7 separate regions of the Homo sapiens genome follow, and all the other regions are linked to region 5. The links are contacts of gene promoters, found by promoter capture Hi-C in human tissues and cell types (Jung and others, 2019). All regions are on one chromosome and are shown on one strand. Each heading gives the region's core, a stretch centred on a gene start or on the middle of the fragment in contact. The rest is flanking DNA. Distances are from core to core; before and after follow the strand shown. Region 1 overlaps ZNF516 (zinc finger protein 516). Region 2 overlaps LOC105372212 (a long non-coding RNA gene). Region 3 has its middle 28 kb from the start of LINC01879. Region 4 has its middle 9.5 kb from the start of LINC01879. Region 5 holds the start of LINC00908 (long intergenic non-protein coding RNA 908). Region 6 overlaps ZNF516 (zinc finger protein 516). Region 7 overlaps LOC107985151 (a long non-coding RNA gene).

What was found. Contacts are between HindIII fragments. The study calls those that stand out against the background at their distance.
Region 1: a fragment that was not itself captured here is called in contact with the fragment with the promoter of LINC00908 in region 5 in 2 of the 25 tissues and cell types used here (lymphoblastoid cells and mesenchymal stem cells).
Region 2: a contact is called between a fragment that was not itself captured here and the fragment with the promoter of LINC00908 in region 5, in 2 of the 25 tissues and cell types used here (IMR-90 fibroblasts and dorsolateral prefrontal cortex).
Region 3: a fragment that was not itself captured here is called in contact with the fragment with the promoter of LINC00908 in region 5 in 2 of the 25 tissues and cell types used here (dorsolateral prefrontal cortex and spleen).
Region 4: a contact is called between a fragment that was not itself captured here and the fragment with the promoter of LINC00908 in region 5, in 6 of the 25 tissues and cell types used here (H1 embryonic stem cells, adrenal gland, heart right ventricle and 3 more).
Region 6: a fragment that was not itself captured here is called in contact with the fragment with the promoter of LINC00908 in region 5 in 2 of the 25 tissues and cell types used here (lymphoblastoid cells and spleen).
Region 7: a contact is called between a fragment that was not itself captured here and the fragment with the promoter of LINC00908 in region 5, in 1 of the 25 tissues and cell types used here (spleen).

Annotation. Positions count from the first base shown.
Region 1 is chr18:76,371,846-76,375,607 of GRCh38, forward strand. The region is part of intron 4 of ZNF516 (zinc finger protein 516); the gene reads right to left. Among named protein-coding and RNA genes, the nearest start is that of ZNF516-AS1, 120 kb to the right of the region's middle. RefSeq lists an enhancer at 1-41. The HindIII fragment of the contact is 6,110 bases long and covers 1-3,762 here.
Region 2 is chr18:76,680,800-76,684,648 of GRCh38, forward strand. LOC105372212 (a long non-coding RNA gene) reads right to left here. Exons shown (of 3, transcript XR_935657.4): 3 at 2,747-3,849. Among named protein-coding and RNA genes, the nearest start is that of LINC01879, 7.3 kb to the right of the region's middle. The HindIII fragment of the contact is 5,868 bases long and covers 1-3,849 here.
Region 3 is chr18:76,716,248-76,720,503 of GRCh38, forward strand. No RefSeq gene overlaps it. Among named protein-coding and RNA genes, the nearest start is that of LINC01879, 28 kb to the left of the region's middle. The HindIII fragment of the contact is 6,667 bases long and covers 1-4,256 here.
Region 4 is chr18:76,697,329-76,701,666 of GRCh38, forward strand. No RefSeq gene overlaps it. Among named protein-coding and RNA genes, the nearest start is that of LINC01879, 9.5 kb to the left of the region's middle. The HindIII fragment of the contact is 4,225 bases long and covers 296-4,338 here.
Region 5 is chr18:76,527,145-76,530,999 of GRCh38, forward strand. LINC00908 (long intergenic non-protein coding RNA 908) reads left to right here and starts at 1,511. Exons shown (of 3, transcript NR_015417.1): 1 at 1,511-1,819; 2 at 3,240-3,320. RefSeq lists enhancers at 1,253-1,893, 1,894-2,532, 2,030-2,109, 2,533-3,172. The HindIII fragment of the contact is 15,253 bases long and covers 1-3,855 here.
Region 6 is chr18:76,394,549-76,398,773 of GRCh38, forward strand. All of the region lies in intron 3 of ZNF516 (zinc finger protein 516), which reads right to left. Among named protein-coding and RNA genes, the nearest start is that of ZNF516-AS1, 95 kb to the right of the region's middle. The HindIII fragment of the contact is 6,024 bases long and covers 1-4,225 here.
Region 7 is chr18:76,655,021-76,659,158 of GRCh38, forward strand. It overlaps LOC107985151 (a long non-coding RNA gene), which reads right to left. Exons shown (of 3, transcript XR_001753506.1): 2 at 2,651-2,771; 3 at 1,297-1,459. Among named protein-coding and RNA genes, the nearest start is that of LINC01927, 18 kb to the left of the region's middle. RefSeq lists an enhancer at 3,687-4,138. The HindIII fragment of the contact is 5,712 bases long and covers 1-4,138 here.

The DNA.
Region 1 (3,762 bases), core at 89-2,588, 160 kb before region 5:
GCTGTGCAGCTCCGAGCAACTGCAGGCTGGGCACAGCCATCACCCGGCTCTGTCAAGCAGCACATCCAGCAAATCAGAGTGACACCGGCGTGACAGAGACGAGGCTCATGGAAAATAGGAAGTGAGCGGGACCAGAGCCCACCGTGACCCGGCCGCGATCCTGGGAGACCCACGCAGAGTGAGTGCGGCCACAGGGTGGCCCCACCTCTGGCCCTCTCTCCTGCCTGCCTGGGCAGCTCTGAGGCCCCGGCCCCCAGAAGGGAGGGGACACCTACAACCACCAGGCAGCAGGCCCCCAAGGTGCGTGCACCTGCTGGCCATCGGCAAGGGGGGAAGTCCCCAAGTCCCACCTTTTCCCCAAAGATCATGCCACATCCCTGCACTCAAAGGCCGGGCTTTGTGTTTCCTTCTGATCCAAAAAGCCACACGACTTTGATTAGAAAGGGATGCAGAGAGCGTTTATTTGTCTGCACAACTTTTCTCTCTGAAGAAAAGGCTTGATTTCCATGTGCTGGCAGCTCCAAAGAAATTTCTCTGGCTGGGAGAGTCACTGTTATGCGCAATAGTAACTCAACTCAGTAGGAAAAACAAAAAAAACAGAAATAATAACTAGAAAAAGTTACACCTGTTGCAGTAATTTTTTAAAACGCTGCTTTATGCAGCTGAGTTTTTATGTATCTAAAGGCTGACACCTGAGTGTGAACAGCAAATGAAGAGAATGACAAAAGGCACCTTAGTCACACTGGTTGAAAACAAACCTTCAATATTGTTTCTCTTACCCTAATTCAGAGTAGCTCAATAGGTAAAAACATAAAATCATGCTTACACTATAGATCATGTTTATGGAAATAAGAAATGCATGAACTGTGAGGCACATCTTGTCAAATTTCTTATATGACAGATCATTAACATGAATCAGAGAAATTCAACAACTTAGCCACCGACTACTCAATATTCCCATTGCCTTACATACACAAAAGGAATAAGAAGAAACATTTCAACCAACACTCAAGTTAACAGGGGCCAGGTGCGGCGGCTCACGCCTGTAATCCCAGCACTTTGAGAGGCCAAAGCGGGAGGATCACTTGAGCCCAGGAGTTCAAGACCAGCCTGGGCAACAGAGTGAGAGCCCTCATCTCTACTAAAAATGTAAAAGCTATCCAGGCGAGTGATGCATGCCTATGCTTCTAGCTACTCAGGAGGCTGAGGTGGGAGGATCACTTGAGCTCAGGAGGTCAAGGCTGCATTGAGTTGAGATCACACCACTGCACTCCAGCCTAGGTGACAGAGTGAGATTCTGTCTTGAATGAAAGAAAGAAAAGAAAGAGGAAAAAGAAAAAGAACAGAAGAGAGAAGAAGCAAAGAGAAGAAGAAAAGAGGAGAGAGGAGGGAAGAGGAGGGGAGCGGAGGGGAGGGGAAAGGAGGGGAGACAGGAGAGGAGAAAAGGGAGGGAGGGAAAGAGAAGGGGAGAAAGAAAAGAAGGAAGTAAAGAAAAGGAAGGAAAGGAAAGAAAGAAAAGAGATTTTTTAAGCTATTTTGTTCCCCCATTCATTTGCATTAGAAACACCACCCAGTGGAGCTCCTACGAAATGAATTTCTGAATACTCCGGTTGTCTGGATTTTCCCAGGTACAATCTAGACTGCTTCTACAGGTGGAATCTGACCACGCCTACACACAATACTGACTAATGATGACGACATGCAATGTCATCTGTGTCTAACATTCACAACTTTCAAAAACTAAGTCATTATTCTTTTTTCAAGTAATTATTGTAGCTATTTCCTATCCAAATGAGCAACAGAGAAAACATGGATAGCCCTCCCACTCATCCGTGCTTATTTCCTTGAAGTAAGGGTGCATGAGCACGCGTGCACACACACACACGCAGGCGTACACGCTCACAAGTGCACACACACATATGAGTTTCCCACACATCTCACCATATCACTTTCTCTTTACTTTTTAAAGACAGGGCACTTGCCCTTATGGCCAATAATATTATGCCCAAGCTACAACATTCCGAGTCAATCACAAAGGTTATAAACTTCATTTGAACTGAAGACCACCTGGTAAGCACGCAGCTCAAATGTTCTCACCTAGAAATTCAAGTTGTGTTTGGAAAGTGGACTTAACGGTCAAAGAAAAAGGCCTGGCCAACTTCAGAGAGGGACACCCAGCCCTGCTACGTTGCGTGTCATTATGTGGTGCTGTGCTATCCATAGAGAAAGAGGAGATGAAAAAGATTCTACAAAGAGAGATCAAACTGCAAGAAAGCACAAAGCTTTCATCACCACAATATGAAGGCCTCCTTGGTATAAATGACTTTTTTAGGTCCCAATAAGAAATACCATCTATTCTATCTGGAATTATTTTATTAGCTTCAAATTTTATTCTAAGATTCATACTATCAGATCATCTAGACTGGCCGTAAGGTCTGAAAACACAGATCATGTATTATTTTATTACTGTTGTAGCAATAAGTCATTTATGTTCTATTCCTGTATGTTTATAGACTTGGTAGTCACACTGTACAATGATTACAGAAAATGCAGTGGGTTTTTCTTCTTAAATGGTCAGGGAGTCCCTAAAGGAGGTAGCAATAGTTCTTTCCTTCCTGTTTGGGTAGAGTTTTTAGACTCTTCATATCTACAGAAACATCACCCGAACACATGTGGGGGCGGGGAAGTCTTTGAGACTTCCGTTTCCTAACTTCTGAATAAAACCTGTCTTAGAAGCATCCTCCAATAGCAACATTCTCTGTATAAATGGAACATGTCCACTGCAAAATCACAGAATCACACTTCTAGCACCCACAACTATTGCATGTACACGTGAGATGACTTCCTATTCTCTGAGACCATTCTCCTCTGCATATTTCTACCTCCCCAAACTACAAAATGATGCTACAGCAATAGGGGTAATCAATGACCACTCACAGGGAAGTTGTGATCTTTACAGCTGCAGACGACACCCACCTAGCAGACACGTAACAAACACATGCGGTGAGAAGAGAAGACCAGAAAGCAGAGATACACTTGTATAATAAGACACGTCAAAAAGATCAATTTGACCAAGGAAGGAATGAAACAAGATTCTAGACTCATGACTCAAAAATCAACTACAGGTACACCACAAAAAAGAAACAGCTGAACAGAAACAAGTGGAAGAAAAAAGCCCTAAGAAAGTGTAGTTACTCCAGTATTCAGCAACACTCAAAAAAGGAAATCCAGGCTGCACAGATTTCCTGGGCTGCGGTAACAGAAATCGAGTCTCTGTAACAGGAAACATGAGTGTTCTGTTCACCTTTCCAATAGTCTGACCACACCAAGGCTGCTGGGTTTCCTTCTGGCTACAACACTTTAAGGGCGTCAAAAACAAACATTCAAGTAAGGAGAAAGGAAATGCGGAAGGTCCCAGAGACCAAATAGAGGATGGATGTGAAGGTCCTGGACACCAGGTAGAGAGTGGACAGGGAAGGCCCCAGAGAACAGGTAGAAGGATGGACACAGAAGGCCCCAGAGACCAGGTAGAGAGTGGACGTGAAGGCCCCAGAGACCAGGTAGACAATGGATGGGGAAGGTCCCAGAGACCAGGCAGAGGATGGATGGGTAGGTCCCGGAGACCAGGTAGAGGATGGACAGGGAAAGCCCTGGATACCAGGTAGAGGATGGACGCAGAAGGTCCTGGAGATCAGGTAGAGGATGGACACACAAGGTCCCGGAGACCAGGGAGAGGATGGACCCAGAAGGTCCTGGGGACCA
Region 2 (3,849 bases), core at 1,037-3,536, 150 kb after region 5:
TTCTGGAATCCCGTATTGAGATGAAGCCGGAGGACCTGGTCTTCAAAGGTCCTTAAGGGTCTGGCTCACAGAGTCACAGAGGCGGGGGCAGCCCAGGCTCTGCACCTGCCCAGTGCAGGAGGCAGATTCTGGGGCTCAGCCCACATGTTGAGAATACACCTGAGGTGGCAGTGCCTACCTTCTGCTGCTTGGCCTCTGAAAGAGGTCATGTTACTCCCAAGTGATTTTTATTGATCCTGGGTCTTGTCTTGGCCTCCCCCCCACTTTCCCCCATTTCCTCTCCTTGAGCAGGCATCTATTTTTTTATGTTTTTGAGCTGGAGTCTCGCTCTGTCACCCAGGCTGGAGTGCAGTGGCACAGTCTCGGCTCACTGCAAGTTCCGCCTCCCGGGTTCACGCCATTCTCCTGCCTCAGCCTCCCGAGTAGCTGGGACTACAGGCGCCCGCCACCACGCCCGGCTTTTTGTATTTTTTAGTAGAGATGGGGTTTCACCGTGTTAGCCAGGCTGGTCTTGATCTCCTGACCTCGTGATCCTCCCACCTCAGCCTCCCAAAGTGCTGGGATTACAGGCGTGAGCCACCACGCCTGGCCTTTTTTGTATTTTTAATAGAGACGGGGGTTCACCGTGTTAGCCAGGATGGTCTCGATCTCCTGACCTCGTGATCCACCTGCCTCAGCCTCCCAAAGTGCTGAGATTACAGGCGTGAGCCACTGCGTCCGGCTGAGCAGCCCTCTAAGTCTCCACCTGCTGTGACAGGTTAGCAATGAGGCCCGGCTTCAAGTTCTTCAAAGGAGGGTCTACAGCCCAAGTCAATAGGGAGTAACTTTGCTGCTTTTATTTTTTTTAATGTGGTAAAACACATAACGTAAAATTTATCCTTTAACCGTTTTTGTTTTGTTTTGTTTTGTTTTTTGAGACAGGGTCTCCTGCCACCCAGGCTGGAGTGCAGCGTCGTGAACATAGGTAACTGCACCCTAGACCTCCCGGGCTCATGTGACCCTTCCCCATCAGCCGCCCGGGTAGCTAGGACTATAGGTGTGCACCACCATGCCCCACTATTTTTTTTTCTGTAGAGATGGGGGTCTCACAATCTTGCCCAGGCTAGTCTTGAACCCCTGGACTCACGCAATTCTCCCAGCCTCCCAAAGTGCTGGGATTACGAGTGTGAACCACCGTGCCCGGCCATTTCATCATTTTTAAGTGTGCAGTTCTGTGGCACTACACACGTTCACACTGCTGTGCAGCCATCACCACTCTCCAGCTCCAGAACTTTTCCATCTTCCCAGACTTAAACCCTGTCCCCACGAAACACAGAGGCCTCACTCCTCCTCCCCCAGCCCCTGGCGCCCCTTCCACTTTCCATCTCCTTGGCCCTGACTCCTCCGTGTTCCTCACCTGTGTGGCTCAGCAGCACGTGTCCCTCTGAGACTGGCTCACTGCACTTAACACAGTGTCCTCCAGTGCATCCGTGTCATAGCATGGAGCAAAATTTCCTTCCTTTCAAGGCTGAATTTGATGCCATCGTTCAGGTTTTTTTTACACAGCAAAGTGTGCAAACCACTGAGGACAGGGCTACTGCTGCCGGCCATGACCCTGAAGCCGTCTGTGTCCCAGCCCTGCACAGAGCTGGCCTCAACTGCTGCTCCCATTCCCTACTTCTCCTTCTCCCTACCTGGGAGCAGCTGCCAGGCTACCGCACAGGGTATGGAGAGGGAAGAAGCACCTGGGTGCCTTTTTTTTTTTTTTTTTTTTGAGACAGTCTCACTCTGTCACCCAGGCTGGAATGTGGAGTGCAGTGGCGTGATCTCAGCTCACTGCAACCACCGCCTCCCAGATTCAAGCAATTCTTATGCCTCAGCCACTCTAATAGCTGGGATTACAGGCACACACCACCATACCCAGCTAACTTTTGTATTTTTAGTAGAGATGGGGTTTTGCTCTGTTGCGCAGGCTGGTCTTGAACTCCTGACCTCAAGTGATCCGCCTGCCTCAGCCTCCCAAAGTATTGGGATTACAGGCTTGAGCCACTGCACCCAGCTCCAGCCCATTTTTTTGAGACAGGATCTCCTTCTGTCGCCCAGGCTGGAGTGCCCTGTCTAGATCTTGGCTCACTGCAGCCTCAACCTCCTAGGCTCAAGCGATCCTCCCACCTCAGCCTCCCAAGTAGCTAGGACTACAGGCGGGCACCAGCACTCCCGACTAATTTTTCTTTTTCTATTTTTAGTAGAGATGGGGTTTCATCATGTTTCCCAGGCTGGTCTTGAACTCCTGGACTCAAGCGATCTGCCTGTCTTGGCCTCCCAAAGTGCTGGGATTACAGGCCTGAGCCACCGCACCCGGCCTCGTTTTTAATTCTCACAATTCTCAAGGATAGTCGCGAGAGGCCTCAGTGTTTCCGTTTGACCAAGGAGACATACTGAGAAAAATCCAGTGGCTTTTCACATAGATCACGGTGCAGGTCCTTTGCCCTGGCACCTTAATCAGGAAAAGGAGCCCCTAGTGAGCCCTGGTTTCCTCATTTATAACGTTGGAAAAATAACAGTATCTACTGCATAGCATTGATTTGAGAGCTAAAACCAGATAATTTATGTATGGTGCTTAAACACAGTGTCTACAATTAGCAAGGGCTCAGTAAGAAGGAGCCAATATTAATATTATTAACATCATAATTTAAGAGGAAAAAATTCAAAGTGTGGTCCATGCCTATATTTCAGTTTTATGCAGCTATTTAAAATGGTGTTTACATTTTGTGTTTACAAAATTGTTTAATGCATGAGGAAATTTTTATGTTGTTAAATTTTTTCAAGTTTCCGAAATCATATATACTGTATGATTTCAATTATGCTTTAAAAAAAACCAGTAATAAAAACACAGGAGGAAATATGACAAAATATCAACAGTGGGCATATCTGGGTAATGAGATTGTGCGTAACTATTTTTCTACTTCTCTCTCCTTCAATCTACTTCCCAAGGAGCAGATAACTGTCTCTATAATTATAAATACAATAAATCAAAATGTAAGTAAAGTCGAATATGCACTAATCGAGCTTTGTTTTCCCATATGGTAGTGGTCCCCATCCCGGGCTGCACGTGAGGATCCCCCAGGAGCTTGTTCTCACCCAGGTTGCGGCTGCCCCCTGACCAGTGTCATCACCGGCAGGTGCCATCGACAGTCTGATGAGAAACAGCTGACAATTTTGATTCAGAATCTGAAAGTGGCTCACTGGTGTTATCAATACACACAGGATCGCTTTCATTTTAAAGTCACAAACAGAGAGTCAGTGCAGCTACAGGATTAGAGCTGACTGGCTGAGTGCTTTGTCATCTGAATTATCAGGACCTGGAGAGCAGGGGAGGCTCCCAGTGGGTGTGGATCTCAGCGCTGGCTGCCCTTTCTCCCCATTTTCACCTGTTTCGCCATTGCTCTCAGTTGCCACCCTGGCTCTAAGAAGCGGGGTCGAGAAAGAGCCACTGAGGAAACTGAAGAGGCCACGAGTCGATTCTGTGCCCAGCTCAGACTGTGGCTGATGCGCAGAGGCACGTGGGCTCTTGGAGGGTGGGGATGAGCTGGGCAGCCCCACGGCTCCTCCTGGCAGGGCCCCCATGCTGCGCGTCTGTGGGCTCTTGGAGGGTGGGGATGAGCTGGGCAGCCGCACGGCTCCTCCTGGCAGATCCCCCATGCTGCGCGTCTGTGGGTTCCACGGCAGCCAGTTCCAGGCACAGGGCATTCTTGGTGCACTTGTCAGGTGATTGACTCCGTGCAGCGATCTCCACGGGTCCTTTTGAGGATGATGCCGAGAATCTCTGTTTTACTCCTGGGAACACAGCAGCTGCCAAGGTTGGACATC
Region 3 (4,256 bases), core at 437-2,936, 190 kb after region 5:
TGAGCCGAGATCGCACCACTTCACTCCAGCCTGGGTGACAGGCTGAGACTCCGTCTCAAAAAAAAATAAATAAATAAAAATAAATAGCTAGAAAGACTGAAAGCTTTACTCCTCAGATAAGAAAAAGACAGGGATTCCTGCTTTCACCTCTGATATTAAACATTGTATTGGAAGTTCCAGTCAAAGCACTTAGGCAAGACATACAAATTGGAAAGGAAGACGTAAAACTATTTCTATTGCAAATTACATGATCTTCTATGGAAAATCCTAAAGAAATTTAAAAAAAACTTCTAGATTATCTTAGTTCATTTTCTGTTGCTATTATAGGATACTACAAAATTAGGTAATTTACAAAGAAATGTATTTCTTACAATTCTGGAATCTGGGAAGTTCAAGGTCAAAGATGAAATATGGCAAAGATAGAACATGACCCTAGCACTACCTGATACAAGGGACAGACTCTTATCAGGCGTGTCTGAGGTCGCTGGGCGCTGTCAGGAGGCCTGGCTTCCTCCAGCTCCCTGCTCCTTCTCAGATTCTGTCATGACCAAATTCCCAGGAGACGTGAATGTTCTATTTCATTCATCTGGTCAAGGTGCCACATCTGGTGAGAGCCTTCTTACTGTATCGTAACATGCAAAGGGCACCACCTGGCAAGGGGGCAAGGGCACGCCAGCACAGGTCTCTCCTCCTCTTCCTAGGAAGACATCACAGGGCCCCACACTGATGTGATGGATGATATGATGCCCCTTATCTCATCCTAATTCTCTCCCAAAGGCCCTGTATTAGTCAGGGTTCTCTAGAGGAACAGAATTAATAGGATATATATAAAGGGGACTTTATTAAGTATTAACTCACGTAATCACAAGTTCCCACAATAGGCCATCTGCAGGCTGAGGAGCAAGGAGAGCCAATCCAAGTCCTAAAACTGAAGAACCTGGAGTCCAATGTTCAAGAGCAGGAAGCATCCAGCACGGGAGAAAGACGTAGGCTGGGAGGCTAGGCCAGTCTAACTATTTTACATTTTCCTGCCTGCTTTATATTTGCTAGCAGCTGTTTAGATGGTCCTCCCACCCCCCCGGATTGAGGGTGGATCTGTCTTCCCCAGCCCACTGACTCAAATATTAATCTCCTTTGGCAACACCCTCACAGACACACCAGGATCAATACTTTGCATCCTTCAATCCAATCAAATTGACACTTAGTATTAACAATCACAGGCCTCATCTCTTGATCCTGTTACAATAGGAATTAAGTTTCCAACATGCATTTTGGGGTGACATATTCAAATCACAGCACAGATCTAATATACAAATTCAGCCAAATTGCAGAATACATGATCAACACAATCAGTTGTGTTTCAATACAATGAAAAACTCAAAAAGGAAATTAAGATTAAAATTTCGGCTGGGTGCAGTGGCTCATACCTGTAATCCCAGCACTTTGGGAGGCCAAGGCAGGTGGATCACGAGGTCAGGAGATCAAGACCATCCTGGCTAACACGGTGAAGCCCCATCTCTACTAAAAATACAAAAAATTAGCTGGGCGTGGTGGTGGGCGCCTGTAGTCCCAGCTACTTGGGAGGCTGAGGCAGGAGAATGGTGTGAACCTGGGAGGCGGAGCTTGCAGTGAGCTGAGATCGAGCCACTGCACTCCAACTTGGGTGACAGAGCGAGACTCTGTCTCAAAAAAAAAAAATTCATTTACAATAGAATCAGAAAGAATAAAATACCTAGGGATAAATTTAATCAAGGAGAATGTAACTGTGACAGACTTGTGAACTGAAAGGTGTAAAACATTGCTGAAATAAATTAAAGGAGCGATATAAATGGAAAGACATCTCATTTTCATGGATTGAAAGACTTAATATTGTCAAGATAAAAAGCAATCTACAAATTCAAACTCAATCTTTATCAAAATTTCAGTGGCACTGCAGTGAACGCGAATAACCAAAACAATCTTGAAAAAGAAGAACAAAACTGGAGGACTCACACGTTCCGATATCAAAACTTATGACAAAGCCACAGTAGTTAAAACGGTGGTACTAGCAGAGGGATAGACATATAGACCAATGGAATAGAATTGAGAGCCCAGAAATAAATCATATCTATGACAAATTGATTTTCAGCAAAGGTGCTAAGACCATTCAATGGAGAAAGAATAGTCTCTTCAACAAATGGTGCTGGGATCACTGGATATTCACGTGCAAAATAATAAATTTGGAACCCACTTCACATGGTATGCAAACATTAACTCAAAATAAGTCAGTGATCTAAATATAAGAGCAAGACCAGGCCGGGCACGGTGGCTCACGCCTGTAATCCCAGCACTTTGGGAGGCTGAGGCAGGCTGATCACTTGAGGTCAGGAGATTGAGACCACCCCGGCAAACATGGTGAAACCCTGTCTCTACTAAAAATACAAAAACATTAGCCGGGCGTGGTGGTGGGCACCTGTAGTCCCAGCTACTTGGGAGGCTGAGGCAGGAGAATGGCATGAACTCAGGAGGTGGAACTTGCAGTGAGCCGAGATTGCGCCACTGCACTCCAGCCTGGGCAACAAAGCAAGACTCTGTCTCAAAAAAAAAAAAAAAAGATCAAGACCAAAGGGGCAAATCTTCATGACCTTGGATTTGGCCAAAATATCTGACAAGGGATTAATATCCAGAATATATAAGGAACTTCTATAACCCAACAACAACAAAACTTAATTTTAAAGTGGGCAAATGACTGAAATAGACATATATACACATACGCACACATACACACAAATGGTCAACAAGCACATGAAAAAATGCTGAACATCATTAGTTATTAGGGAACTACAAATAAAAAGCAAACTTCATACTCACTAGAATAGCTATAATTTAGAAATATGAAAAATAATAAGTGTTTGTAAGGATATAGAGAGATTGGAATTCACTTTTTTTTTTTTTTTGAGATGGAGTCTTGCTCTATTGCCCAGGCTGGAGTACAATGGCACAATTTTGGCTCACTCCAACCTCCATCTCCCCGGTTCAAGCAATTCTCCTGTCTCAGCCTCCCGAATAGCTGGGATTACAGGTGCACGACACCATGCCTGGCTAATTTTTGTATTTTTAGTAGAAATGGGGTTTCACCATGTTGGCCAGGCTGGTCTTGAACATCTGACCTCAAGTGATCCTCCTGTCTCGGCCTCCCAAAGTGCTGGGATTACAGGCGTGAGCCACCATGCCTGGCCTGAAATTGGAACTCTTGTATACTGCTGGTGAAAATGTAAAATAGTGTAGACCCTATAGAAAACAGTATGGCAAGTCCTAAAGAAATCCAAAATGGAATTACTGTATGATCCAGCAATTCCATTTCTGGGTATATATGCCAAACAATTGAAAGCAGAGACTCAAACAGATTATATCCTGGTATTCACAGCAGTGTTATTCCCAACATCAAAAAGCTGGAAACAACTGAAACGTCCATGAACGGATGAATGGATAAACAAAATGTGGTATATACCACAGAATACTCCTTCAAAAGCAAAGAAATTCTAATATTAATACATTCATAACATGGATGAATCCTGAAGACATTATGCTAAGTAGAATACACCACTCACAAAAAATAAATCTTCATGATTCCACTTATATGACATGCCTAGAGCAATCTAATTCATAGAGACAGAAAGTCAAAAGCCAGTTAGCAGCTGAGGGAGGGGGGAGTGGGGAATTATTGTGTAGTGGATCAAAGTGTCATTTTGGGATGATGGATGAGTTCTGGAGATGGATAATGTTGATGGGTGCACAGCAGTGCAAAGGTACCTAATGCACAGAACTGTATGCTTAAACATGGTTAACACCTGTAATCCCAGCACTTTGGGAGGCCAAGGCAAGAGGATCACCTGAGGTCAGGAGTTCGAGACCAGCCTGGCCAACATGGTGAAACCCCATCTCTACTAAAAATACAAAAATTAGCTGGGCGTGGTGGTGGATGCCTGTAATCACAGCTACTTGGGAGGCTGAGGCAAGAGAATCACTTGAACCCGGGAGGCAGAGGTTGCATTGAGACGAGATCGTGCCACTGCACTCCAGCCTGGGCAACAGAGTGAGACTCCATCTCAAAAACAAACAAACACACACACATGGTTAACATGGTAAATGTTATATACATTTTACTACAATAAAAAATATTTGCACACAGAGAAAAAAAGTAAACATTGAGATACCATGTGACACAGAAATCTGCTATGCATATACCCCAGAGACCTGAAAGCAGAAAGTGAAAA
Region 4 (4,338 bases), core at 1,158-3,657, 170 kb after region 5:
ACAGCAATCTCTATGTCCAGAAACTTCTGGGCTTCAACCAAATATACAATGAATTTGGGGTGTGGGTTCAGGACAGGAAGAAAGCACACACACGTTAGCGTTTTGTTCTTTCCTGAATCGGCAGCTTAGTATGGAAAATGACCCTCTGGGACACTCCCATTTGTCTAACCCAAGTGGGGCGTGGAAGGAAAGGAAACTCCGTGAGACTCCGCTGAGTCTCGGGCAGGGCACGTTGTAGACGTCTGGGGCACACTGGCCCCGCTCTGCATCCACAGCTGGATTCTCCACCCCTGAGCAAGACAAGGAGCCCCAGACAAAACGCTCAGGATTCCAGAGGATGGGGTTGAGGATCCTCAGCCTTTCAGAGTGAAAATCCACGAGGCGGAGGAGGTTTAAAACAACAGAAACAGGCATGTGGGGAAAACCATAGGTTCAATTAGAAGCACTGTACAGACGTTCTGTACAAGAACTTCCTGCGCAGAGGAAACAGGATACCAGGAAAAGTGGAAACCCTATTGTTTACTTGGAGGTAGGAAAAGAAATAGGTGGGTGATTTGTTTCCATAGTGACTATTGTTAAAATGAGACAAACTGACACCGATACTGATTTATTCTCCTTTTCAAGCCTTTTTAAAAGATCGCTTTAATCTGAGTTGGTCCTTGAATATAAATAAGAAGACAAAGTTATCGTTCACAATTATTATTTTTGGCCACTTAGAAATGAGATTTTTTAAAAAATGAAAACATTTAAATAGAATGTGTTTTACATATAGGAATTGTGTTCTGGGTATTTGCAATTTAATCCTAAATCTTAAAATAATATTTTTTCCTGCTTTACCCCAAACTACAAGATGTGTATTTGCTGTTGGTGACCTCTGAACCCACATCACAGGAGTTTGATTTATAAAGGTGGACACTTAATCTGTCCTCCTGGACAGCCAGGCTCCCCACTCCTCCCAAGCTCCAGATGCTGTTTGTTACAAAATGGCGAGCATAAAAGGCCTTAATGGGTATCATCTCACAAAATCTCCACTCCCTCTCAGGAGCAGGGGACCTCCTTGCAGGGCAATAAGCAGGAAATTAAACACGTACACACGCATATGTACACACACATACACACGTACACACATACACACACAAACGTACACACACACATACATACACACATACACACACACAATTGGTGCAGTGACTCTCTGGCTCAGCTCTTGAAAGGAAGAAAAACCCAAAGAATGTTCTAGAAATTCCTAGGCCCCTGCTGGCTTAAAGTGTAGTTCTCACATGAGCCAAAAGTGAAGCCTGCCAGGGTATCGAGCCCCTGTGGCCCATCTCTACCTTCATCCCCTCAATCTTCTCATGCATTCATTCGGTTATTAATTCACCAAGCTTCGTGACGGCCCCCTAAGCTAGTGATTGTTCTAGGTACTGGGGCTGCCACGGTAAGACATGACTGATCTCTCTCACACCAATTAATAGTCAGCATTAAGGAGGTGTGGTTAAGCATGCAGGCTGCGGAGCGAGACTCAGAACCAAACCCTGGCTCTGACCCTTTCTAGCTGGATTTCATTGCCTGCACGCGCTCCCTCTCTCTCTTTCTGTGTCTGTCTGTCTGTCTCTCTCTCTTTCTCCATCTCTCTCTCTCTTTTTTATACCTGAAAATGCAAAGAATCGTGTCACCCCTATGCATTGCTACAAGGATCCATGGGATGCCGCAAGCAGGGCGTGCAGCCGCCTGTTCCCGGGTGCCGCACACGTGCTTGCTACAGCTATGAGGATTCTCCTGACTAAGGCGTGCGTCTAACCCTCGAGGAACTCGCTATCTAGATCTAATGGTACAGGAAAACGACTAGAACATTTGAAGGTGCTATCAATGCTATTCTTTTTTGGTTGAGTGGGATCCCCACAATTTAAAATTAAGTAAAAGCTGGCTAGGCATGGTGGCTCATTCCTGTAATCCCAGCACTTTGGGAGGCCGAGGCAGGCAGATTGCTTGAGCTCAGGAGTTCGAGACCAGCCTGGGCAACATGGCGAGACCCTGTCTCTACAAAAAATACAAAGAGTAGCCTGATATGGTGGCATGCAACGGCTACTTAGGAGGCTGAGGTGGGAGGATTGCTTCAGCCCAGGAGGTAGAGGTTGCAGTGCAGTGAGCTGAGATCGCACCACTGCACTCCAGCCTGGGTGGCAAAACCAAACCCTGTCTCAAAAAAAAAAAAGAAAAGAAAAGAAAAAGAAAAAGAAGAAAATTAAACTTAAATTAAGTAAAAGCTGCCATTTATTTTTAAAGCCACTTTATTGAAGTCTAATTGACGTAGAAAAAGCTGTACATATTTTATGTCTACAACTTGATGAGTTTGGAGATAAGTACTCACCTGTGAAACCTCACCATAATTTATGCCGTAAGCATATCCATCACCTCCAAAAGTCTCTTTCCACCCTCTGAATTAATTATTGTTATTATTTTGTGATACAAACACAAGATCTATCCTTTCAGCCAATTTTAAGTATACAATACAGTGTTGCTAATGATATGTCCACGCTACACAATAGATTGCTAGGACTTACTCATCTTGTATAATTGAAACTTTGCACCCCCTGACTCATCCCGTCCCGTCCCCCTCCCCCACGCTCCCTCTCTCATCCCACCCCTGACAATCACTGTTCCACTCTCTGCTCCTGAGCCTGACTAGATTCATCATGCAAGCAGCACCAGGCATATTTGTCCTTCTGTGTCTGGCTTATTTCACTTAGCATAATGTTCTCCAAGATCACTGGATGACGTGTGTTAATGAGGCCTCTGAAACCAAGCCTAGGACCAGGCAGAAGTGTGGAATGCAGCTGTGGAGCGAGGATCTAATCATTCTGCCCACTCTAACTGCCAAGATGAATCGCTCCATGGACGGCACGTTCTGAAGTAATCAATATCAATTTTCAAGACAGCTGAAATGTCCGATGAACCACACGGCAGCCGGGTGCAGTGGCCATGAGCTGCTGTCGCTTCCCAGTTAATGTGAAATGGAGAAATAAACACCTGTCAGGCCCTCCCATCCACGGAGGCAGGCGGTCTGCAGAATCTTGTTCAACAGGCTGTGTTTTCTATGCCACACCATGATCTTGGTTCCTTGGCTCGGCCAGGCGTGATGGTGGCGGGAGCCTGTAGTTCCAGCTACTCGGGAGGCTGAGGCAGGAGAATGGCATGAACCCGGGAGGCAGAGCTTGCAGGGAGCCGAGATCGTGCCACTGTGCTCCAGCCTGGGTGACAGAGTGAGACTCCATCTCAAAAAAATAAAAATAAATAAATAAATAAATAAAAATTAAAAAACTATTCTAACATTTAAAAATTTATTTTAAAATAACAAATATACTGTCGAAACATTTTAAAAATTAAAATATCCAGTTTTAATCTGTGTTTTGAGAAAAGGGAAATGGAATAAGTAGCTAATTGGTACATAAGTTGGTAGAAACTGTCAGAAAATAATTGTATTTTGTATTTCAAAAGGGTAAAGTTATAATTGCATTTTAAAACTGAGACATTTCATTCTAGGAATTTACATGAGCAAATAATCAGAGATGCACAAGACAGATCTGTGTGTGGGCATGTTTGCAGCCGCAATGTTTAGGAGTAACACTAATAAAAAGCAAGGGGGTGAGGTAGGGCGAATTTTAATTTGCTATGTGACTCTTAATCCTCCCACTCATAACCAAATAGCCGTTTCGGGACAAAAATCTTGTCTCCCCAAATCTCTTCTTAGGTGGGAGGCAGCTGGGCAAGGCATTAAAAAAAAAAAAAACATAAAAAACAAATGCCGGGCGCGGTGGCTCACAACTGTAATCCCAGCACTTTGGGAGGCGGAGGCAGGTGGATCACAAGATCAGGAGATCGAGACCATCCTGGCTAACACGGTGTAACCCCATCTCTACAAAAAAATTAGCCAGGCGTGGTGGCAGGTGCCTGTAGTCCCAGCTACTTGGGAGGCTGAGGTACGAGAATGGTGTGAACCTGGGAGGCAGAGCTTGCAGTGAGCCGAGATCGCGCCACTGCACTCCAGCCTGGGGGACAGAGCAAGACTCCGTCTCAAAAAATAAAATAAAATAAAATAAACATATATACAGGGTCTGATCCTCTCCACTTCCTTTTAGGGCTGGGATTATGCCCAATTAGCTCATGATCTGAGTCAAATGTTTGGGGTGGGGTGTATTTATTCAATGCTAATATAATTATGTGCACATACCAAGACAGGTATTTGCACGAGTTGTCACCAGTAATACAGATAATCCTGAAACTGGATTCTGTGGGGAAACAGAGTCTGGGGAAGCTAAAGATCCCACCTGAGTCTTT
Region 5 (3,855 bases), core at 261-2,760:
GGGGTGCTTGAGTTGTTTCCATTTTGTGGCTACTGCGAATGCTGCTGCTATTAAACCTGATTTTGACCCTGTGGTGGCATAAGGAGCTCATCAGGGTGAACTGGAAGGGGTGTGCCCCACTGCTGGTGTCTGGTCAAGCAAACCCTCACCCCTTGAGAGAGGAGTCAGTGGGAGACACCACTCAAGTCTCCATAATGAGGGACAATTTCAGGCTGGGACAACATGGTGGAGGAAGGACCTCTTCAGAGAGGAAGTGCACGTAAGGGGCAAGGACCCTAGAAAGACCTGTGGGACCTGTGGAGAGTATGCACGTCCTTCAGATTGAGGCTGGTTTGAGGCCGGGTGCCATGGCTCACGCCTGTAATCCCAGCACTTTGGGAGACCAAGGCAGGCGGATCACCTGAGGTCAGGAGTTCGAGACCAGCCTGGCTGACAAGGTGAAACCCCGTCTCTACTAAAAATACAAAAATTAGCCGGGCGCGGGGGCACACACCAAAAAAAAAAAAAAACAAACCTGGGCTGAGTGCAGAAATCAGTCCAATCCAGGGAGAAATCTGGCAAATACTCTTGGCCAGCTCCTGTTTTTCTGAAAACATAGGTGCCAGAAGAGCATCCGGTAGCAGCTGCCAAGTTCAATACTAGGACTCCACTCCACAGACAATTCTGTCACCCCATTGTGGGTGTCCTGGATGCCCAGAAAACCCACATCTCTTGATAAAGTCCTCCTGTGGTAAGTCTGCAACCCCTCTGCACCCAGCCCCTCTGCTGACACCCCCTCTGCACCCTGCATCTTTGCCAAGTGGGGAGAGATGCATTCCAGAACTCCAGTGGCAGGATCTGCCCTTGCCGGGATCATGCAGACTTGGCATTTTCCAGTACCTACTGTTGCTTGAGGTTTCTTATAATAGAGCAGGATGAGCAACACGACTTCTCGTTTTGTAATTTGGCACATATGTATATGTTTTATACATACATGCTATGTGTCTATATGTACACACGGCAATACATACGTGTATATGTATACGTATATATGTATGTCAACGAATACCTAAATATATAATCATATGAAACAAACTGTTTATCCCTGTTCCATAAACTTCATATCAATTCAATAAATAAAATTTATTCAAAATCCAATCATCCCAACACATTAACATTTAATTTTTCCCTATTTTCTGTCTGTGTTTGTCATTGAATATTAAAAGTTTTGCTTTTTTTTACTATTTCACCTCTTTTCTAGGTAGTCCATAATTTTAAAACAATATATATGGCACCACTTGGTCTTCACAGCTTTCAAGACAGGACTGTCAAGGCAAGGACACTCCTTAGGGGACCCTGTCCCATAAAGTCAAATTATGCGGGATGAGTCAGTGACGCAGGAGCTAAAAACAGTGTCCCTTTAAAAATGTGCATGCCTTTGAAATGGAATAAGTAAAGTACTTGCAGATGCAAATGGTTTCAAGTTTCACTGGAGACCCAGCGAAAGCGGCTGTTCTCAAAGTTGCCAGGCAGTGTGGAAACGCCCACTGAGGGGCACACAGTGAGGCGGCCACTGGCTCTGTGTCCTTGGGGAAGCCCCTTCTGCGGTCCCCTCCATTGTCTGCGTGACAAAGTGGACGTAGAACTCCCCCATTTCCTGCCCAGGGCGGGTGAGGACCCTGCACACACACGGTGTGTTTGTGAGCTGTGCAGAGTGGGGTCTCCCTGGCAATGGCCACAGCCTCCAGGGGCGCTGACACCTCCCGTCTAACTGGTAGACAGTTTCTGCCTCTTCTTGTTTGGGGATTGGAGAGGGAAGTGCGTCTGGATGACTACTAAGGTAAATATGGAATGGGCACCGCGTCTTCCCTTTCTTCTCTCCCTTCCCACGCACCTGCCTGGCTCCCCGGCTCTCCCGCCCTGGCCAGAGTCAATGTGAGCTGCAAAGTCCATATGTGAACAGCTGTGGGCAAGTCGTGCAACAGTGCTCATGGGACTTACTACGCATCTAAGCCGCTGAACTTCAGCTGGACCCCAAATGGCCTTGGTCACGTTTTGTTTCTGTTTTGTCATTTCCGGCTGCATCTCCCACAGTCTCAGCCCTGCGCTCCTTGCTCTGCCTTCTCCTCCCCACAGCTTCTTTGCAGATAACATCCTGGCCGTATTATGCAACTGAACCCATATTATCCGGGGGAAACTTACCCTCCTCTGCTCTCTAAATCTTCCTTTTCCTTCTGGTTTTGGAGAAAGAGGAGCTCCTTTCCATCAATCAGGTCAACCTCTTCCTGTTTCCTTTCTTCATTCTTCGTTATTTTCCACTCCTGAGTTTTGGACTCTTCTCTCGGTCAATAAGTATATCCGAATTCTTCCAGCTGTAAAACCAACAAATGAAAGGCCTCGTGTACCAAGGCTGCCCCCGCGTGCGGCCCCCCGGGCTGTGTGGCCTTGGCCTGGAACACAGCCCCGCTGCCACCTTCCTGCACTCCGTGGGGGAGATGGGCGGTGCACACTACCCAGAAGTGGAATGTGCATTTCACAGAAAATGACCAATTTAAGCAGAAAATTAAAGCAGAAAACGGGGTGAGAACGGCAGACGCGTGTGTGGGCACCGCAGCGTACACGCTTAGGATCCCGAGTTTATTTTTCTAGGGCCCGTGTGTTGGTGCGCATGCGCGTGCGCCCCCACCACCTGAAATCTTGGTAGTGCCTGTTAACCCGGCAGTAGACCCATGGGTGAATTTACTCTCTTCTCTGTGTCTTTCTGTATTTTCCATGCTTTCTGTGACGAACAACATCATACATACCGCTACTTCTTTTTTTGGGGGGACGGAGTCTCGCTCTGTCGCCCAGGCTGGAGTGCAGTGGCGCGATCTCGGCTCACTGCAAGCTCCGCCTCCCGGGTTCACGCCATTCTCCTGCCTCAACCTCCCAAGTAGCTGGGACTACAGGCGTCCGCCACTACGCCTGGGTAATTTTTTGTATTTTTAGTAGAGACGGGGTTTCACCGCGTTACCCAGGATAGTCTCGATCTCCTGACCTCGTGATCCGCCCACCTCGGCCTCCCAAAGTGTTGGGATTACAGGCGTGAGCCACCGCGCCCGGCCACATATCACTTCTTCTATTGTGCATTCACTGCACACCAAGCACTTCTATTGGGCGTTCACTACACACCAAGCCTAAGTAAGGGCTTTCTGTGCACGCTCTCATTTCATGCTTATGACACTCTGAGAATTAAGACCATTTTGGCCCCTGTCTTACAGATGAGGAGGCTGAGGCCTAGTGCTCCTAGCGGGCTTGGTCAAGAGCAGGAGGCGGAGGTGGTGGAAGGCTGTTTCCCTGCGGTGAGTGCTCACACGGTTGGCGGTGATTTCTCCGCAGGGTCTCACAGGCCGGTGCTCTCAGGAGCCACACCTGAAGAATGGCAGGACCCAGGGTGGGCAGAAGAGGAAGGTGAACTGAGGAACAGTTGCAACAGAGGCCTCGGCCAACCCCATGGAGGGCTCTGAATTTGAGAGCCCTGAGAGTCACTCCCCCTGAGGCAGGAGGCCAGGCGTTGCACCCATGCGCTGGCCACTCGCTGGGGACAGGCTGTGTCCAGGGAGGGTACCTGTGTTTGGGTGAGGTGCCCTTCAAGAAGGGCAGTTCCTGGAGAGTCCCCAGATAGAGGTTGTCAATAGTTGACACTTTCTGCAGCTGGCGGGACAGCGCTTGGTTGAGGGGGACTCTGGGTGGCCCACTACAGTGTCTACCACAAATGCCTACCTGCTCTCCAGGATACATTCAAATCTCGCCACCCCCAGGAGGCCTTCTTAGATTCCCATGGATCAGAATGGGCCTGGGATGCTCTCTTCCCATGTCCCTCAGGCTTGCTTGAGC
Region 6 (4,225 bases), core at 793-3,292, 130 kb before region 5:
TGGTCAGGTGGGGGCAGGGCGGGTGGTCAGGTGGGGGGAAGGCAGGTGGTCAGGTGGGGGGAAGGCAGGTGGTCAGGTGGGGGCAGGGCGGGTGGTCAGGTGGGGGGAAGGCAGGTGGTCAGGTGGGGGGAAGGCAGGTGGTCAGGTGGGGGGAAGGCAGGTGGTCAGGTGGGGGCAGGGCGGGTGGTCAGGTGGGGGGAGGGCAGGTGGTCAGGTGGGGGGAAGGCAGGTGGTCAGGTGGGGGCAGGGCGGGTGGTCAGGTGGGGGGAAGGCGGGTGGTCAGGTGGGGGGAGGGCAGGTGGGAAGGCAGGTCAGAACACAGCCTCCAGGAGAGTGCTGTCCACACACAGAAACTCATTCATTGCCCAATCACCACACACGCCCTTTCTGACTGAACCACGGTTGACTGGAAGAACCGGATGATATCCCAGGTCTGCATTTTTCAAACTCAGTCCCGATTCCAACTCCTTCTGCTCTAACTAAACACATGAGTGAGCATTTGGTCATCTCAGGCCAGGCAGGAATATTGGAAACGGATGGAGCAAAGTCACAGACAAAGCCTGCATGCCTGCATGCCATGTTTTTAGGTTGTAAGGGAACAAATGTTAAACACAAGAAAGGGAATTTTGGCCCTAACCCAGCAGAGTGGGTTTCCCACACAGGCACTCCTGCTGCCGCAGGGCCTCTGCGCTCGCTGTTTCCCCCGCAATTCACAAGGCTGCACCCCGTCCTAAACGAGCATCTCCCAGACACCAAGAAAGCAAACCTTGTTTCACAGCTTTATCGCCACTATCTAGCGCATCTGGCTCCTGGGAGAGAGACCATCAACAAATATGCATTTATGGGATGAATGAGGTGAGTAGGAGTCATTTAATATCCAAGACTCACATGCAATGAGACAGTGCACAGGAAACTGCTAAAAAGCATGAAGCGCAAGATGAATTCGTTAATTCAGCAGGTATCTCTTAAGGACCTGCAAATAAGAACAGTAACGTTAAGCACAGGCAGCCTCAGGGGCAGGTACGGAATTCTGGCAGCACAGAGCACAGCTCTTAACCCAGTTACCAACCTCGAGTGGGTGCTGAGGTGGACATCCCAGAGCTACAGTCACTGGAGTCAGTGACCACGGACAGGCTGGAGGCCACGCATTCTAGATGAGGGAGTCTCTCTCCAAAACAAGACGCACCAGCACGTGCCGAGGAAATGAAACTCCAAATGACGGTAAGATAAAGCACTTCCCAAATGACGTCACCACCCTGGTCACACTGCAGCCGGCCGTGAGGGTGGGCCAGCCGCCCTGCAGGAGCCAAGTGTTTCAGGGACAGGACCCCGCTCCTCGTCCAGCTCCCCACACCGCGAGCTTCACCGTCCGGAAGTGCGCAAAGCTGCAAGTGAAAGAGGAAGCCCTGCCTTCTTCCCAGCATCCACGCTCCTGACCCAGAAGGTGATCCACGTACAACCTGAAGTATGAGATTTCATTAGCAGCCCATTCTCTTAATTAAAAGCCAGATGGAATATTTGAGGTGATGGCCTCGAATGGTAGATGGTGCTCAGGGCTGACAGCAAATAGGATATTCAGGTCACTGGTTCTCCCATCCCCAGTAGCTGTGATTAGGAGATGGTCACACCCCTCCTTCACTTTCTTCTTCTTAGATGTTCCCTCTTATTTAAAAAGAAAAATCTATGAAACTAGCCCCATACAAGTGTATGGGCATGGGGAACAAATAGGTATTTGTGATATAAAAGCAAACAGCCTCTATCCAAATGACACTGAGGATTTCAACCATATATGGCGCGCAGGGTCACCCTCTTCCCAAGGTGAAAATGCCCAGTGCCAGGAGCCCGACGCTGTCTCAGAACTCAGGGCCACTGCATTCAAAATCATTTCAAGATTTCAGCATTTACTTTTAATATTTGTGAATCTGTAGTAACTTTTATAACAGACATGACTAGTTAACAAAAAACTGGATTTGACAGCAAGAACATCACAGTCATCAACAGTGTTGCTCAGAAGAAGATCCATCTATCACTTTTAACCTGTCCTGAAAGGGGGAAACTTGATGAAATCAGGCGTCCAGATTTCATCACAATTTGAATTTCTAAGACAATCAAAATGCCAGAGACTAAGACAAAACTACATAGACATCTGGGGGGAAAAACAGCCCCTGGAAAGATATTCAAGCTGAAAGGATCTTGGCAGCAGGCAGAGTGGTTCTCCAAACTGTGGAGAAGAGAGGCCATTCCACTGAGAGTGAGAGGCCGGAGCACCGCTGTCAGACGATGTTTTTGGATATGATGTAGAAAATGCACGAGGAAAAGTTGTAGCTATAATATCCACGGGGGCTTTTCCATGAAAAAACAAGACATAAGCTGCCTGTGCAAGGGGAGCCAAAGAAATGCTGAAAACCACTGCCACAGGCTGGTGTGATCTGGAAGTTCTCCTCCTGAAACACAAAAAAATAACCCAGACAGACTCAGTGCTTCAGAGGGACACAAGGAGCACAGAAAAGCCGGGGGACACATAATTGCTTTCAGAGGCTACGCAGTTCAGAAGCAGGTGCAGCCCATCAGGAAGCCACAAGCCCCTCCAGAGGCACCGAGTCGGGGAGACCCAAGCCCCAAACACCAAGGCCATGGAGTAGGAAAGTGACAGCGTGGGTCTTGCCCTCATTCTCATCAAAGGGCAGCCCTGGGCTTTCATACAGAATAATAAACGCTGCTGCCAATCGTCCAGCTCAGTCCTATGGCCAGAAAAGTTTCTTCTAAAGAAATGTCTTCAAGAATGATTCTTATCATGACACATACAATGTGAACTACAAAAAAAAAGAAAAAAAAATCTGAATGACAAGAAAATGCCAGGACTAGAGCAACATGGAACTGAATGGTATTATAAAATTTTGATAAATTATACCCCAAGATGTTTATTCTACTTTTTCTGGATGACTGAGTACACGTTTTCATTTTAAGTGATAATCTACTAACATAAACAACTTGCGAAAGTATGTTATCTGTGTTAACAGAAAATTACATAAATATCTTAGTACTCTGGACACGATATTTTATTTTTGAGACAAGGTCTTGCTCTGTCACCCGGGCTGGAGTGCACTGGTGCAATCACAGCTCACTGCAGCCTCAACCTCCCAGGTTCAAGCCCTCCTCCCACCTCAACCTCCTGAGTAGCTGGCTCTACAGGCGTGTGCTACCATGCTTGGCTACTTTTTTAAAAACTTTTTGTAGAGATGGGTCTCACTCTGTTGCCAGGCTGTTCTGAAATTCCTGGGCTCAAGTGATCCTCCCTGGCATCTCCAAGTGCTAGGATTACAGACATGAGCCACTGCGCCCCCAGCCTTGGAAGCTGTATTTTGATGTCCGAACAAAAACAGTCCCAAATTAAATATAGAATTTCTGACTAGACAAATTATTCGTGTTACTTTTTAAATCAGTGAGTACAGAATCAACAACTTAAAGGTTAATCAAATACCTCTAGCTTCCATGACAGCTTTCGGTTAAACAGCAGTTTATCCGGCATAAAACATAATCAGGTTCCAGAAACCTGGAATTTACTAACTGCTTCCTATTGACTCAACCATAAAGAAGCGTCGCTCAGGTTTGGTTTTTCTGTTGTGAATCAAATGCTGAAGTGAATCGAATTCAAGTTGGCTTTCACGGCTACTCTACACCTTACACACCTTCCTTCGTCCCCAGATCCTAACAGCCAACCAAAACACATCCACTGGAGAAAATACAATCAATATATTCTTTTATTATTTTTTAAAACATGGCAAACCATACTTTAATCAGAGAGCAATGAAGATTTCCACTTACAAATTTATCCAAGTTGGCAAAAAATAATTAGCTAACACGAATCTTTCCTTGTATGACGCAGCTGTCTGAAGCAGATGCCAGCTAGCACAAAGGCCGTACATGAAGTCTTATCAAGAATGGTGGCGGGGACTGTCGGGAAGAAGGTGCTGACGCCGCTGGTAGATGTTAGAATGAAAATAAGGAAGCTTAGAGTAAGGAGGAGAGCAGGAAAGCCAGGCCCATAACACTAGTTATGAAGGAATGGGGGCCTTTCTGAAGGAATGGGGGCCTGGAATCTTCCAACAGGAGTCACAAAGAATACAATTAAACCACTTGTGTGTTTTCTCCTACACAAAGTGTTTTAAGAGGCATAGGAGGGAGTAAGTCTCAGGAAGAGAAATAACACTGTACACTTCTCCGA
Region 7 (4,138 bases), core at 866-3,365, 130 kb after region 5:
ATTTCTCACAGTTCTAGAGGCTGGCAAGTCCACAGTCAAGGCAGATTTGGGGTCTGTTGAAGACCCATTTTCTGGTTCGTGGATGGTACCTTATTGCTGTGTTCTCACGCAGTGGAAGGGACAGACAAGCAGTCTCTCTTGGGGCCTCTTTTATAAGGCACTAATTCCATCTATGAGAGCTTCAGCCTCATGACCTTATCTGCTCCCAAATGCCCCATCTCCAAATACCACCACCTTGGGAGTTAGGATTTCAATGCTTTGGGTGATGTAAACATTCACACCACAGCCTTGTGGGACACTGGGCAGGTTACCTTCAGTGCCTCATGTTCATTACCTGTGCAGTGGAGGATCGTAACCACACAGGGCGAGAATAAGGCATAAGCAATATCACTAAGGACACCGCCTGGCTAAGAGGTGGCACCAGGAAGTGACTACAGTTTCCATGTTACCTGCATGTGTGCCCCAGGAAGGTCCGACTTTTCCTCTTGGTCCACTTGATCGCCTATTAAGTAGTCTACACACTGTTACAATTTGCTAGTAGTACATCAACTACAAGTTGATGCAATGAAGTTGGCCAAAGGAAAAACGAGGGATCTGGAGTCTGGCTGGATGCCCTTTCCACGGGCTCTTCCCAGAAATGGCTGTGTCTCCCTGCTCCTGGTCCTCCAGGACCCATCTCCTCCCCATGATCCTCTCATGAGTTGTCTTCAAGAGGAGGTAGCCCTTTGCTATTTGAAACCACACAATTAATGGAGAATGCTGGAACGTACTCAACACTAAATCTACTTTATAACTTTTTAGTGTCTTTTATCTGGTGTCTCCAACTTCTGTAAAAGGAAAAGAATTTCAGCCCTAACCAGAATAGCCTTCAGTTACTGATGGTATCAGTAAACACCGAGGGCTTTGCTTGAGAAGATACAGCCACTTCTGGCCATAAATTCATTTTTCAAAGACCCCTTGCCTATAATACCTGGGCAAAACCACTCAAGAACAAATGGTATTGTTCACATTAAACAAAAAAGCAAAATTTCCAACAGCACCACCCCTGCTCATGTCCCACATCTATGGAACCAGTTCTTTACTTTCTGAAGCACAGAGGAGTTTTACTGTCTGGACATACCCAGCAGGAAAGGGTCAATCGTTGGCATTATCTGAGGAAGTCCATGTTTCCCCTTATATGACACCAATAACCAATTGCTGTCGTGAGAGATTTTTCCACATTAACTCACTTAATCCTCATAAGAACCCTATAAGGTAGGGACTATATTTAGCTCCATTTTATAGGAAAATGCGAGAGGAAAGCTGCATCACTTGCCCGATGTTACACGTCCACTAGACGGTGGTTGGGGGACCCGGGTTTGGACTGAGCAGCTCCTGCCTTTGTCATCCATGGCATGCACCCTCTTGCTCGGAGGAGGTCCCCTGCATCAGCCCAATCCTGGCTTGGAAAAGTCTCAACCTAAAATGAGTGAGAGCAGTTTGAGTATCGTGAGTAAAATTTGGAATAAATTAAAGATTTAATGTTCCCTTATTAACAAAACATAACTAGCTGTGCTTCAAAAAGAAAAAAAACACTTTTGAATATTGAAAAGGCATTTCTTTTATTTACATAATGATCTATATCCAGATGTACAGGAAACAAATCCCAGGTTATAACAATACCTACAGCTCCGAGAAAGATACCTCTTATTATGCTGTATTTCTAATACAACTGATTCTAAATACAATTGATCCTCTTAAATTCCATTTTGAAATATTTTCCCCATCTGCTTGCTTACAATCTATTTTTCAGAAGCAACTGAGTATACATTCGACATAAAACTGAAATATTTACTCAAAATGTCAATGCATACTGCTCCTGACACATTTATATGAAGGATAATTTCTTGGTGATTGAATAATTTTTAGGACTACTTTTTGAAACATCCCTTGTAAGTAATTTAGACCTAGACTGTATTTCCTATAATGTTAAGCACTCAGTAACTGTTAAGAGGCATAAATCAGCTTACTTTGTAAATTAGTTTAAGTGATCGCTGCTCCTAGGAAAAACAGAGACTGTTCCCAGTGCCCCTGATGACAGATGGGGGCCAGGATAAGGAGCATCCTGCTCTGTGGACATCTTCTTTTCACTTCTCCCCCTGCATACTTCAAAAAATTCCATTGTCGCTTTTTAAATTACACAAAGGACATTCTAGCAGTGTTATGACTGAGGAGTGCATAAGGTAAATATAGGAAAATACAGATCAACAAATTTGTATAAAAGCATATGTCAACGGCTCCTTCAAATAGGCTCCAAATTGAAGTAGTGGAAGTAACAGTTAACTTTTAGTTGCAAAAGATTAAGAGTCCTGCTCTCTCTTGTGGCACCTCTCTTCCCATTTCTCTGGAACTTTTTGCTTCAATGTAGCTCCATTTATTGTCATGGTGCTTAGGCTGGGGCACTTTGTTCTGGCCATGCAGTTATCTGGGTCTGGATCAGTCCCTTTACTGCAGCCTTTATTGGTACTCAAAGGGTGAGGCTCATAAAAAAACAGGACCAAAGAAATGCAGCCACCACAGCTCAGGAGCCAGGCTAAAGCAGGAAATGATAATGATCTCTACCAGGGCTTTCAAGAGCTCAAAGTACTGTAAGAAAATGTGAATCACGGACCGTCTGAAATGAAGCCCCTCCAAGTCAGGATGGAAAGGAGGTGCCGCCATCTAGGAGAAATGTGTGGAGTAGACGTGGATGAGCAAACCATCTGGAGTTTTATCAGCGTCCTTCTTGTTCCCTGGAAAAAAAAAATGTAAACTTTGCACAAAAAACACCATTTATTATTTATTTTTTTCCTTCCCTTCCCTTGGTAGCTTTCTGAAAAGACCAGAGCTTAATAATTCAATGATCATAAAAATTTCTTCAACTTAATGAGAAATTCAGTTCTTTCCTTGCAGGGCAAAAAATCTCTCACATTCTCACATTGTATCATGGCAGGGAACACTGCATCCGTGTGGAGAAACACCATGATCCGCTGAATAAAATCTCTCAGGAAACCTGAAGCCACTCACTAGACTGTGCAAGGCGGATTAAGATCGAGGGCGACATCGCAGTAGAGTCTATATATAGATGCCCACATGATGAAGAGCTCGAGGAAACCTTTTCTGGTCAACTCACCAAAGCTTTCAGCTACATCTGGTTATGATGGGGCATGAAACTCCTGTTACATTCTGGAAAAACAATTCAGCTGACCACAGACCACCAAGTCGATTTTTGGTCTACACTGGAGAGAACTTCCTCCCTTAGAACGTTGGAGGAATCAGACAGAACAAGGTCTGTTGCTCATCTGATCTCTAACAGGGAAGAGATCATGAGAGATTTAGAAATCAGTCTCTTGGAGGTAGATGGGTTAGAGGAATGAGTGGCAAAAAAAAAAAGACACAATATATAAAGGGAAGAAAACTGAAATCAGAAAAAGAAAGAAAAAGAACTTTCAGAAATATATGTTCTATTTAACACAGTGGATTGACCAGATGGATTTTATCTTCTCTTTTACCTAAAGCTCTGCATAATAGTTTTAAAGATATTATTCATAATAACAAAGAAAATGAGAGGAAAAACAGCAGCCAGTGAGATATTTCAACAAGGTACAGAAAGCAGGAACAGATGAGAGGTGGTAAAGTACAGGGAACGTGTCTACAGCTGAAGATGTGGACAGGAAGAGGTCGTTTACCACAAGGAGCCCAACAAAAAGGGTCTCCTTCCATAGCTGGGCCACAGGGGGAGCTCTTGCCCTCCTTCTCCATCTCACAGGGGTGGGGGCGCTCCATGCAGGGGGCCCAGGAAGAGTTTCCTCAGTGCAGGAGCCCCTGACCACCTGCTCCCAGACAATCAGAAGCCATGGGTGGGCGGCCTTCCCCCGACAGGGGAAATGAATGATGCCCCTAGCCCACAGGCCCTGCCGTGACTCAGTCTGGTTTTTAGTACCTTGGTCGTCAATGTGAAAGGACAGTCTAGCACCACAAAAGATTTGATTTAAAAAAAATAATGAAAGTTACAAAAATTAACATAGAGGAAGCAGTCTATAAAGAGAGCAGAAAAAAACTTTTAAAAAATCTATATTAACATCCTTAGGCAAATGCTGCATTCATAAAACAGCAAGAT